2 separate regions of the Homo sapiens genome follow, and region 2 is linked to region 1. Evidence: promoter capture Hi-C in 16 types of primary human blood cells and fetal thymus (Javierre and others, 2016). All regions are on one chromosome and are shown on one strand. Each heading gives the region's core, a stretch centred on a gene start or on the middle of the fragment in contact. The rest is flanking DNA. Distances are from core to core; before and after follow the strand shown.

Region 1 (5,439 bases), core at 1,531-4,030:
ATTCCTTAGAGACTTTAAAAAACACTGATGCCTGGCTCCTAGGCCTCCAAAGTTCTAATTTATTGGTGTGAGGTGCAAGTGCACATCAGGACTTTTCAGAGCTTCCCAAGTGATTCAACTATAAAGCAAAATTAGAGAATCACTAACCTAGACAGTCACCCAGCCCAGAAATCTGAGTTATTACTGACTTCATCTTCTCCCACATCTTCCTCTAAAATGTCTCTCCAACAGGCACCTCCTCTAAGCTCCCAGGTCAGAATTAAGGTTTTTAACATCCCTCCTGGATTTCACTAGTACCTTCTCTAATTTCCTCCTCCATCCACTCTCTACTCCACTGCCAGTGTTATCTTTCTAAAGTAAACCTGATTTGTTCCTGCTTAAAAACACTGAAGTCAGGCCAGGCCCAGTGGCTCACGCCTGTAATCCCAACACTTTGGGAGGCCGAGGTGGGCAGATCACGGGATCAAAAGATTGAGATCATCCTGGCCACCATGCTGAAACTCCATCTCTACTAAAAATACAAAAATTAGCTAGGTGTGGTGGCACACACCTGTAGTCCCAGCTACTCAGGAGGCTGAGGCAGGAGAATCGCTTGAACCTGGGAGGTGGAAGTTCCAGTGAGCCGAGATTGCGCCACTGCACTCCAGCCTGGGCGGCTGAGCCAGACTCCATCTCAAAAAAAAAAAAGAAAGAAAACAAAAAAACAGTGAAGTCTAAACTTTTTAACTTGTCATGAAGACCTTTCACAATGAGGCCCTTACCTACTTTTCTAGCTTCATCTCCTGTCATACCCCAAAATATACCCTAGCACTTAACACTATCACACTGCTCTGTTATTTTGGCTTTCTGGACATTCTAAAGGCACAAATCCCATTCTGCCTTTGTTCATGCTGCACCCTTTGCTTCGAGTTCCATTTCTCTATGAAACAAAACCTTATTCATCCTTTAATGTTCACTCCAAAAATACCACCTTAATGAAGTATTTCTTATCCATACATTCAACTTTCCCTCCCTCTTCCATACTTCCATATAATTATAATAGTAACCTATCTAGTGCCAAGATCCTGTTGTGTGTTATTCTCATTTAAACCTCACAACACTACTTTGGGTAGGGTAGGTATTATACCCAATTTACAGATGGAGTAACTGAGACTTTGAGAATTTAAGTGACTATCAAGTCATCAACTTAGTAAGTGGTAGACATGATGGGCACTGCAGTCTGACTCTAGAGCTCATCTTCTTTACCACCACCTTACTCTGTCTCATTGTAAAATCTCTTCTAGAGGACATCTAACTTTATATTCAATTAAGAGAGAGACAGTAACTTGAGAGCAGAGCCCTGAGCATCTGTATTTGTCTCCTGAACACAGGATTAGGTTTTCAATAAGTGTACCCTCAATGGATGAACTAAATAATGAAATAGAACTCTTAAGAGTAATTCCACGTTCTTTAACCAAAATAGTACCCTGGTCTGATTTCAAACAATTAATTCAGCTCTTTATTATACCTAACACTTTCACCTGTTACTAAAAGCGTGAATAAATTAAAAGTATTCATTACTTAGTAAGTTCCTAGTTTTGGATGCAAATAAAACTCAGGATGGATAATTGGCTGATGACTTGAAATGCTGAACCATAAAACTGTCAAGTGACAGACTACAAATTTTTAAAAAGCATTAAACATATCTCTTGCTTGGGTTTATCTCTCACATCACTTATATGCATGGTCAGAATTTCAGAGAACCACTGAAAAATTAAAAGCTTTGCTTATATTACATTCTTGGTGTCATTTCATTTTTGCTGCAATATACTTTGCACATCCAGACCTGCAGGGGTGCAGGTGGTAGAAAAAAATCAAGCTGGTAGCTGTAATTTAAAAACTTTTGTTTTTTACAAGAAACTGTTTGCAGAGAGGAAGTAATGCATCTAGTACGGTCTGGCATATGCACATTCAGTAAAAACCTGATTAATGAGTAAATATCAAGACAAAACAAGTAAAGCATTTTGTGATTGTGATTCGTGTTAGTCTGTAAGAGAGGAAGTGGCTGGCAGCCAATATGAAGGACTGTTCCCTTTTCTAGTAGACATTCGGAGTGGACAACAATTATCCTAAAAGAAAATAACACACTTTCCCTTTTTTTGAGCATTTATTCTAAGTCTGACAACGCGTTCTGCTTGTCATTTAAGCCCACAGCATAGAAGCTATTGTTCTGCCCACTTTACAGGTAAAGAAGTCATGGCTCAGAGGCATTAAGTGACTCGCCCAAGGTCACCCTACTACAAGGCAGAGACGAAAATTCGAACCCGGACAGTCTGACTCCATAACTTGGGCTTGCAAGCCTCCAGCAGCGAGCAGCATTGTCTGTCGGGCCACAGCGCAACCCCAGGGCGCTAACGAGACACGAGAGGGAGCTTTAGGATTCCCCATCTCGCGGGGTGGGCAGGACAAGCATCAGTAACGAGGAAGACGAGGCCTGAGGAGGCTGGACCACTTTAACAAGGTCACAAAGAGTTTCTGCTCACGCTAGGGGAGCACCCCCAAATCCCTCGGGACCACTGGGGAGCCTGAGCCAGAGCTCCCCCCGCACAGAGGCGGCAGCGCCCAGCTCGCCGAGGTCAGGCCTGCGAGCAGGTCTGCTGGCCCCAGGGCGCCGGCCGCGGCGCCAAGACCGAAGTCAGGCCGCCGCATCTGCCCAGCGTTCCACCAAGGGCCTTACCGGGTCGCCAGAACTTCACCGGTCCCACGGGCGCAGCCATGTTGGGGTAAAAGGTCACGAGGCTAGCTCCACCCCACCGTCGCGCGCTAGGCCCCCAGGGCCCGGAGGGCGTGGCCCCCGAAGAGCCGCTGCCCAGACGGATCGCGCCGTGTGACGGCCACGCCCCCACAGCTACCGCCCCCGTCTGAGCCACGTGACCCACTTCCAGGCTCCGGCGAGCGCACCGGCCCCGCCCCCGAGCCCACGTGACCCTGCTCAGCCATTTTGGAGAAAAGGGCGCGCTCCTCCGCCTACCTCTTGAGCGTGGAGGGTAGATGCTTCAGGTGACCTTTTACGAGCGTGGCGTGTCCTGGATGGCGGCCGCACACTTAGGAAGAACGGGCTTTGGGAGAGGACCGCTGGCCCGAGAGTGGAACCTTGCACGCACTGGGCGTTGAAGCAGTGCTTTCTGGATTAAATACGAAATACTGATGTCACAAGCTACCTCAACTTGTCGACTTCTGTTTTATTCTCAATTTCAAATTGAAGGGTAATAATAGGAACTACCTCGTGGGTTGTATTTGTCAGTAAATATTGCGCGCCTGCTGTGGGCCCAGGTAGTGCGGCACAGTGCCCCAAATAAAACAATGCGAAATGATATGGAAGTCTTCAGGGACCTTGAGGGCAAAACGGAAAAACGGACTGGGGGTGGGGTGGAGCGAATGGGTTGGCAGAAGAGACTGAAAATGGGTAGATCAATTAAGGTAGTCCACCAACTCAGTGCTTCCTCCAATTTGATACCCTTGAGTCAAATGCTTGTTAAAAACACAGATTCTAGGCCTTGATCCAATTCTGAATCGATGTCCTGGAGCATGGCTTGGGAACCTGCATTTTGAGAAGCTCCTGAATTCTTCAGATTAACAAATTTGGGAAAGATTACACTAATCCATCAGACGAAAGGTGAGGTCAAAGAAAAAGAAATTACAGTAATCCAAAGGAGCGCTAAGAAGGGGTGATGAGCTCAAGTGGAGGAAATAACTTTCTAGGTAGGCAACTAATTGGAAGGAAGTGAGAGGCTTCAGAATCTATGCATTTTTAAAGCTGTGAAGAAAATTCTGAATTCTTTGAAAGAAGTGGCATCATTATGGCAAGAGCAGGGGCTTTTGTGGACAACCAGTCCAGACTTGGAATCGTAACTTTGCCATTTCCTAGCTCCTAGCTGTCATTTAATTTTAGTTGTAAAATGAGGTTTAAAGAGGTATTACATGAGATAACATGTAAAGTACCTAACAGTGCAAAACATAGCAGGCACTGAATCAATGTTAGCTCTCATTACCTCAACTCAGAGCAAATCCACCAGGGGGAAAAAAATCTGAATTTACCTGCATAGGTTCATGTAAGAATCTTCTTTGATTTATTTTTATAGTAATTAATGTAGGGACTCAATATCTGTTAGTCCCTCGGCCTAGAATTCTCCATCCATCCTTTAAATTATCTTTATCCCTTAAAGGGCTAGCTCTAAATTATCTATCCAACTTAAACATTCCCCCTTGTAGTCTAGGAACTGTATTCTCACTTTTGTGAGAAAAGTGACCTGTAGTTTAGTTGCCTGTAGTTTACCTGCCGCCACTATTACACAGGGAACTTACTGAGGACGAGGACCATGTCACATTCACATTCGTGGCCCAGTAACAAGTGCCTATTGAGTGTAGATAAACATCATGCTTTAGGCTTAGTTTTAGTTGATCTGTAGTTTACCTGCCGCCACTATTACACAGGGAACTTACTGAGGACGAGGACCATGTCACATTCACATTCGTAGCCCAGTAACAAGTGCCTATTGAGTGTAGATAAACATCATGCTTTAGGCTTAGTTTTAGTTGATCTGTAGTTTACCTGCCGCCACTATTACACAGGGAACTTACTGAAGACAAGGACCATGTCAGCATTCACATTCACATTCACATTCGTAGCCCAATAACAGTGCCTATTGAGTAATGTATAGATAAACATCATGCTTTAGGCTTAGTTTTAGTTGATCTGTGGTTTACCTGCCGCCACTATTACACAGGGAACTTACTGAGGACGAGGACCATGGCACATTCACATTCGTAGCCCAGTAGCAGTGCCTATTGAGTAATATACAGATAAACATCATGCTTTAGGCTTAGTTTTAGTTCTTCATGACATTGATTTTTCCTTGTTTTATTTTTGTCTTATTTTACTAACAGCCCAAATACGGAAACCAAGGTTTATACATGAATATAAGGCAAAATGAAATAAATGCCACTTTTAAGATTATTTCATGGCCTGGCACGGTGGCTCACACCTGTAATCCCAGCACTTTGGGAGACTGAGGCAGGCAGATCAACTGAGGTAAGAGTTCGAGACCAGCCTGGCCAACATGGCGAAATTCTGTCTCTACTAAAAATACAAAAAAATTAGCCGGGTGTGGTAGTAGTCACCTGTAATCCCAGCCAGTTGGGAAGGTGAGGCAGGAGAATCCCTTGAACCCGGAAGGCAGAGGTTGCAATGAGCAGAGATCCGCCACTGCACTCCAGCCTGGGCGACAGAGTGAGACTCTATCTCAAAAAATAGAAAAAAAAATAAATAAAATAACTTATCTATTTTATCTATTACTCATATAATGAAACCTTCCTGTTTATGAAGAGACAGTAAATCGGCCATGCCTGTATTATTGGATCATAATCTTTTTTCTTTTTTAGATGGAGTCTTGCTCTGTC
Region 2 (5,049 bases), core at 1-2,500, 4.5 Mb before region 1:
CGCGCGCGCCAGGCTTTCGCTATATGGGCGGCCGGTGGGGCGGGGCCTGGAGCGTGATGTCAGCGCGCAGCGGCACGTCCGTCCCGCGTCGTCCCTGGGCTAGATGGTGACTGGCGAGTCCGTTGCCCGCGACGTTTCGGTGTAGTGCGGTCTTGCTAGCTTCTAGGATTTTTCTCTAGCCCTCCCCACCGTCTTTGAAAACACAATGTCTCTAATCCAGCCGCAGAACTGCTTTCTAATTTGTACCTTTTATAAAACTGTGCGCGATCTCTTCGGGGTTGAAGCTCGGGAGGCGGGCTGAGCGAATCCCCGTTTTTCATTGGTTCTCGAGGTTATCATAATAGGTCGCCGCGGTCTCTGCTTGGTGGCTTAAAACGAGGCTGCGGATTTCTCCCAGCGATTGGTTGATGCTCGTTTTGATGGGGACCGCGGTCTCGGACCCAGTCGCTTGTCTTGTTTCGCAGAATCTGAGGATCGCGCGCCGAGGTCTTGCTGACCGGGCGGAGGTCGCGTTGCGAGCGCGCAGACCCGCCGACATCAGCCTCTCCGGGTCTCACTCGCAGCCTTCGCCTCCCCGGACGTTCCCCTCTCCCTCCATGGGTCTTTCTTGGAGCCCTGGCAGCTTGACTCACTTGTGGATTGGGCTATCCGTGGCAATCCTACGCTCACTGTAGGTGCTCAAAAGGGAGCGTGGACGAGACCCGGCAGCCCTCCCACAGCGACGAACGATTTTTTTTCTCCCGTGTATGGAAAGTCCTTTGTCCCAATACTATCATTTCCTCCACTGACTTGAAAGTGCCTTATTTTGTGAGTTTATCAATGGAGATGCTATTTAAAGCTGTAGAACCAGATTGAAAACCTCAAAGGAGTAAGTTTAAGTGGAGAGCGGAAGACCCAGGCCAACGCCTGGGGTACTCTGAAATTTAAGCGCAGGAAAGGAGACTGGGAGGAGTGACTAGCGAGGTAGGGAGAAGACCAGGAGAGTAGGTGTCACCGCCGAAGCTAAAAAAAAAAAAAAAAAAAAAAAGGGATATCACTGAGATAACACCAGCTCTTTAGATATTTATGTATTCCTGCTCTGTTTTGAGTGGTGCAACCTCAATATCCTTAAGCTTCGGGTTGAAAAAGGGGGGTTTTGTCCTCCTGGAGCTATTTGGAAGTCTAGAGGGAAACGTTGTTTGTCACGACTGGGGGAGGTAGAGGCCGTGCTTAAAGTTAGATAAATAAAAAATACGAGTCTGTAATCCCCACACCTTGGGAAGCTGAGGCAAGAGGATCTCTTGAGCCCAGGTGTTCGAGGCTGCAGTGAGCTATGATCATGCCACTGCACTCCAGCCTGGGTGACAAAGCAAGACTCCAACCTGCCTGAAGGAAAGAACAAAGCTTCCGCAGCGTGGAAGGGGACCCGAGCGGGTTGCCACTGCTGGCTGGACCGCCAGTTTTTAGTCCCTTATTTGGCCCTGCCTACATCCTGCTGATTGGTCCATTTTACAGAATGTTGATTGGTCCGTTTTTACAGAGTGCTGATTGGTGTGTTTACAAACCTTTAGCTAGACAGAGAGCACTGATTGGTGTGTTTTCAATCCTTTAGCTAGACGGGAAAGTTCTCCAAGTCCCCACCCAACCCAGAAGCCCAGCCGGCTTCACCTCTTCACCTCGGTAGGCAGAATAAGGGTTCCCCCTAAAGATGTCTATGTCCTAATCCTAATCCTAATCCCTGAAACCTGTGAAGATGTTACCTTGTATGTCAAAAGGGACTTTGCAGATCTGATTAAGTTGAGCATCTTGAGATGCAGAGATGCCCCGGGATTGTCCAGGTGGGCCCCATGTGATCATAAGGGTGATTACAAGAGGGGGACAGGAGAGCCACAGTCAGAGAAGCAGATGTGACAAAGGAGGCTGGGATTGGGGTCAGAGTGATTGGCTGTAAGAAAGTCACAACCGAAGTTAATGGCTTTGAAGATGGAGGAAGGAACCATAAGCCAAAGGGTGCCAGTAGCCTCTGGAAGCTGGAAGACACGAGGGAACAGATTCGCCCCAGAGCCTCCTGAAAGAACGCAGCCCAGGCCAGGCTCTGTGGCTCACACCTGTGCCATCTCGGCTCACTGCAACCTCCGCCTCCTGGGTTCAAGTGATTCTCCTGCCTCAGCCTCCCGAGTAGCTGGGATTACAGGCATGCACCACCACGCCCAGCTAATTTTGTATTTTTAGTAGAGACGGGGTTTCACCATGTTAGGCTGGTCTCGTTTCGAACTCCCAACCTGAGGTGATCCACCCGTCTCTGCCTCCCAAAGTGCTGGGATTATAGGCGTGAGCCATTGTGCCAAGCCCAACACCAGCTCTTTGGATATTTTTGTATTCCTGCTCTGTTTTGAGTGGTGCAACCTCAATATCCTTCCGCTTCGGGTTGAAAAGGGGGGGCGGGGTTTGCCCTCCTGGAGCTATTTGGCAGTCTGGAGGGAAACGTTGTTTGTCACGACTGGGGGAGATAGAGACCGTGCTTAAAGTCAGATAAAAAATATGATTCTGTAATCCCTGCACCTTGGGAAGCTGAGGCAGGAAGATCTCTTGAGCCCAGGAGTTCGAGGCTGCAGTAAGCTATGATCATGCCACTGCACTGCAGCCTGGATGACAAAGCAAGACACTGACTCAATGAAATAAAGAAAAGCAAGGAGCAAGGCGTAGTAGCTCACGCCTGTAATCCCAGCACTTTGGGAGGCCCAGGTGAGAGGATTGCTTGAGCCCAGGAGTTCGATATCAACCTGGGCAACATGGCAAGATCCCATCTCTACAAAAAACTTTTTTTTTAAAAAATTAGCTGGGCATGGTGGCACATGCCTATAGTCACAGCTATTGGGAAGGCTCTCAACAGGGGGCAGTGGTTCTCAACAGGGGGTAGTTCTGTCCCCCCTGCGGACATCTGTCAATATCTGAAGACTTTCTGGTTGTCACAGCTGGAGGAGGGAAGGAGCTGCTCGTATCTCATGGGTAGAGGCCAGGGATGCCACGAAACATCCTGCAAGGCACAGGACAGCCCCACCACGAAGGATTATCTGGTCCCCAATGTCAATAGCTGAGGTTGAGAAGTGCTATTCCAAATGAATCCTGTACAGAAGTTTTTTTCTTTTCTTTTTTAAATAGAGGCAGGGTCTCCCTATGTTACCCAGGCTGATCTTGATCTCCTGGGCTCAAGGAGTTCAAGCCTCATCCTCCCAAAGTGCTGGGATTACAGGCATGAGCCACCATGCCCAGCCTATGGAAGTTTTTAAAACGAAGTTTGGACTAGCTTGGCAACATGCAATCCAATCTCCCAGTTGGAAGAGCCTCAGAGGATCTTTCAGTCATCTGATTCATGATTCTTTCTAACTCTGTCACTGACAGTTTCCAATTCTGGATTCTGTTCCTGGAGCAACTACTGCTATATTCACTCCACTCCATACAAATACACCTGAGTTGCTACGAGAGGGGATTTGCCGGGCACCGTGGCTCACACCTGTAATCCCATCACCTTGAGAGGCAGAGATGGGATCACTTGATCCCAGGAGCACAAGACCAGCCTGAACAACATAGCAAGACTCCATCTCTTAAAAAAAAAAAAGGCCAGTACTGGCGGCGTATACTTGTAGTCCCAGCTACTCCAGGGACTGAGGTGGGAGGATCACTTGAGCCCTGGAGGTCAAGGCTGCAGTGAGGTATGATGGCTCCACTTCACTCCAGCCTGGGTGACAGAGCAAGACTCTTGTCTAAAAAAGAAAGGAGAGAAAGGAAAGAAAGAAATAAGAAAAGATATGAGCTCCCATGCTGCACATCTACCATTTCTCCTTTGAGTTGTTCTCCCAACACATCAGCAGAGTTGGGTCCTCAGGAAGACTCCACAGAATGGTGACAATCCAGCACCTCTCTCAATTATGATATTTGAAACTGTTTTCTCTTCCGCAGCAGTGCTCTTGGGTTTTTTGTTAGGGGTAGCCACTGGGCTTTGGGAAAGAGAAGTGAGAGGAAGAGTGGATGATATCAGCTGCATCTTTCTCTTTGACAAACGAATTCCCTATCCTTCAATAAATACTATCCCACTAACTCCCCAAAGCAATGTCCAGTCCCACCAATACCGTAAGAGTGTCATTTCCTGCTTCAACTCTTGCAAATAATTTTAATAAATTTTTTAAAAATGAGAGTTTGATGAGTAACAAATGTTATCATTGTCAAATTCTCCTTTCCCTAACTACATTCCATGGACTTAAGCCTCTCTCTATACATATTTATGTATACATGCACATATAAATCTTGCTGCTGCCCACTCTTTGGGTCCGCACTACCTTTAAGAGCTGTAACACTCACTGCAGAAGGTCTGCAGCTTAAGACCACGAACCCACTGGAAGGAAGGAACTCGGGACACATCTGAACATCTGAAGGAGAAACTCCGGACACACCATCTTTAAGAACTGTAACACTCACTGCGAGGGTCCGCGGCTTCATTCTTGAAGTCAGCAAGACCAAGAACCCACCGGAAGGAACCAATTCCACACACACTACCACAGGGACTCTGAAATTTTGTTAAATTTAGGAATGGAAGCTGGGTGCAGGGACTTGTGCTTGTAATCCTAGCGCTTTGGGAGGATGAGGTGGGAGGATCTCTGGAGGCCAGGAGTTCAAGACCAGCCTGGGCAATATAGCAAGTCTACAAAAAATGAAAAAAGGCCAGGCACAGTGGCTAACGCCTGTAATCCCAACACTTTGGGAGGACGAGGTGGGCAGATCACTTGAGGTCAGGAGTTCGAGACCAGCCTGGCCAAAATGGTGAAACCCTGTCTCCACTAAAAACACAAAAATTAGCCGTGTGTGGTGGTGCAGGCCTGTAATCCCAGCTGCTCGGGAGACTGAGAATCGCTTAAACCCGGGAGGTGGAGGTCGCAGTGAGCAGAGATTGCACTACTGCACTCCAGCCTGGGCGACAGAACGAGACTACGTGTCAAAAAAAGAAAGAAAAATGTTAGTAGGCATGGCGGCACGCACCTGTAGTCCTAGCTACTTGGGAGGCAAAGGCAGGAG

What was found. Contacts are between HindIII fragments. The CHiCAGO score rates a contact against its expected background, and 5 or more counts as called.
Region 2: a fragment that was not itself captured here is called in contact with the fragment with the promoter of DHX35 in region 1 in 1 of 17 cell types (monocytes); the score reaches 9.9 in monocytes.

Annotation. Positions count from the first base shown.
Region 1 is chr20:38,959,685-38,965,123 of GRCh38, reverse strand. DHX35 (DEAH-box helicase 35) reads right to left here and starts at 2,780. Exons shown (of 22, transcript NM_021931.4): 1 at 2,717-2,780. The coding sequence starts at 2,756. RefSeq lists an enhancer at 2,446-2,755 and a silencer at 2,796-2,915. The HindIII fragment of the contact is 4,420 bases long and covers 1,763-5,439 here.
Region 2 is chr20:43,452,841-43,457,889 of GRCh38, reverse strand. No RefSeq gene overlaps it. Among named protein-coding and RNA genes, the nearest start is that of SRSF6, 2.5 kb to the left of the region's middle. RefSeq lists enhancers at 1-196, 118-277, 338-657. The HindIII fragment of the contact is 271 bases long and covers 1,115-1,385 here.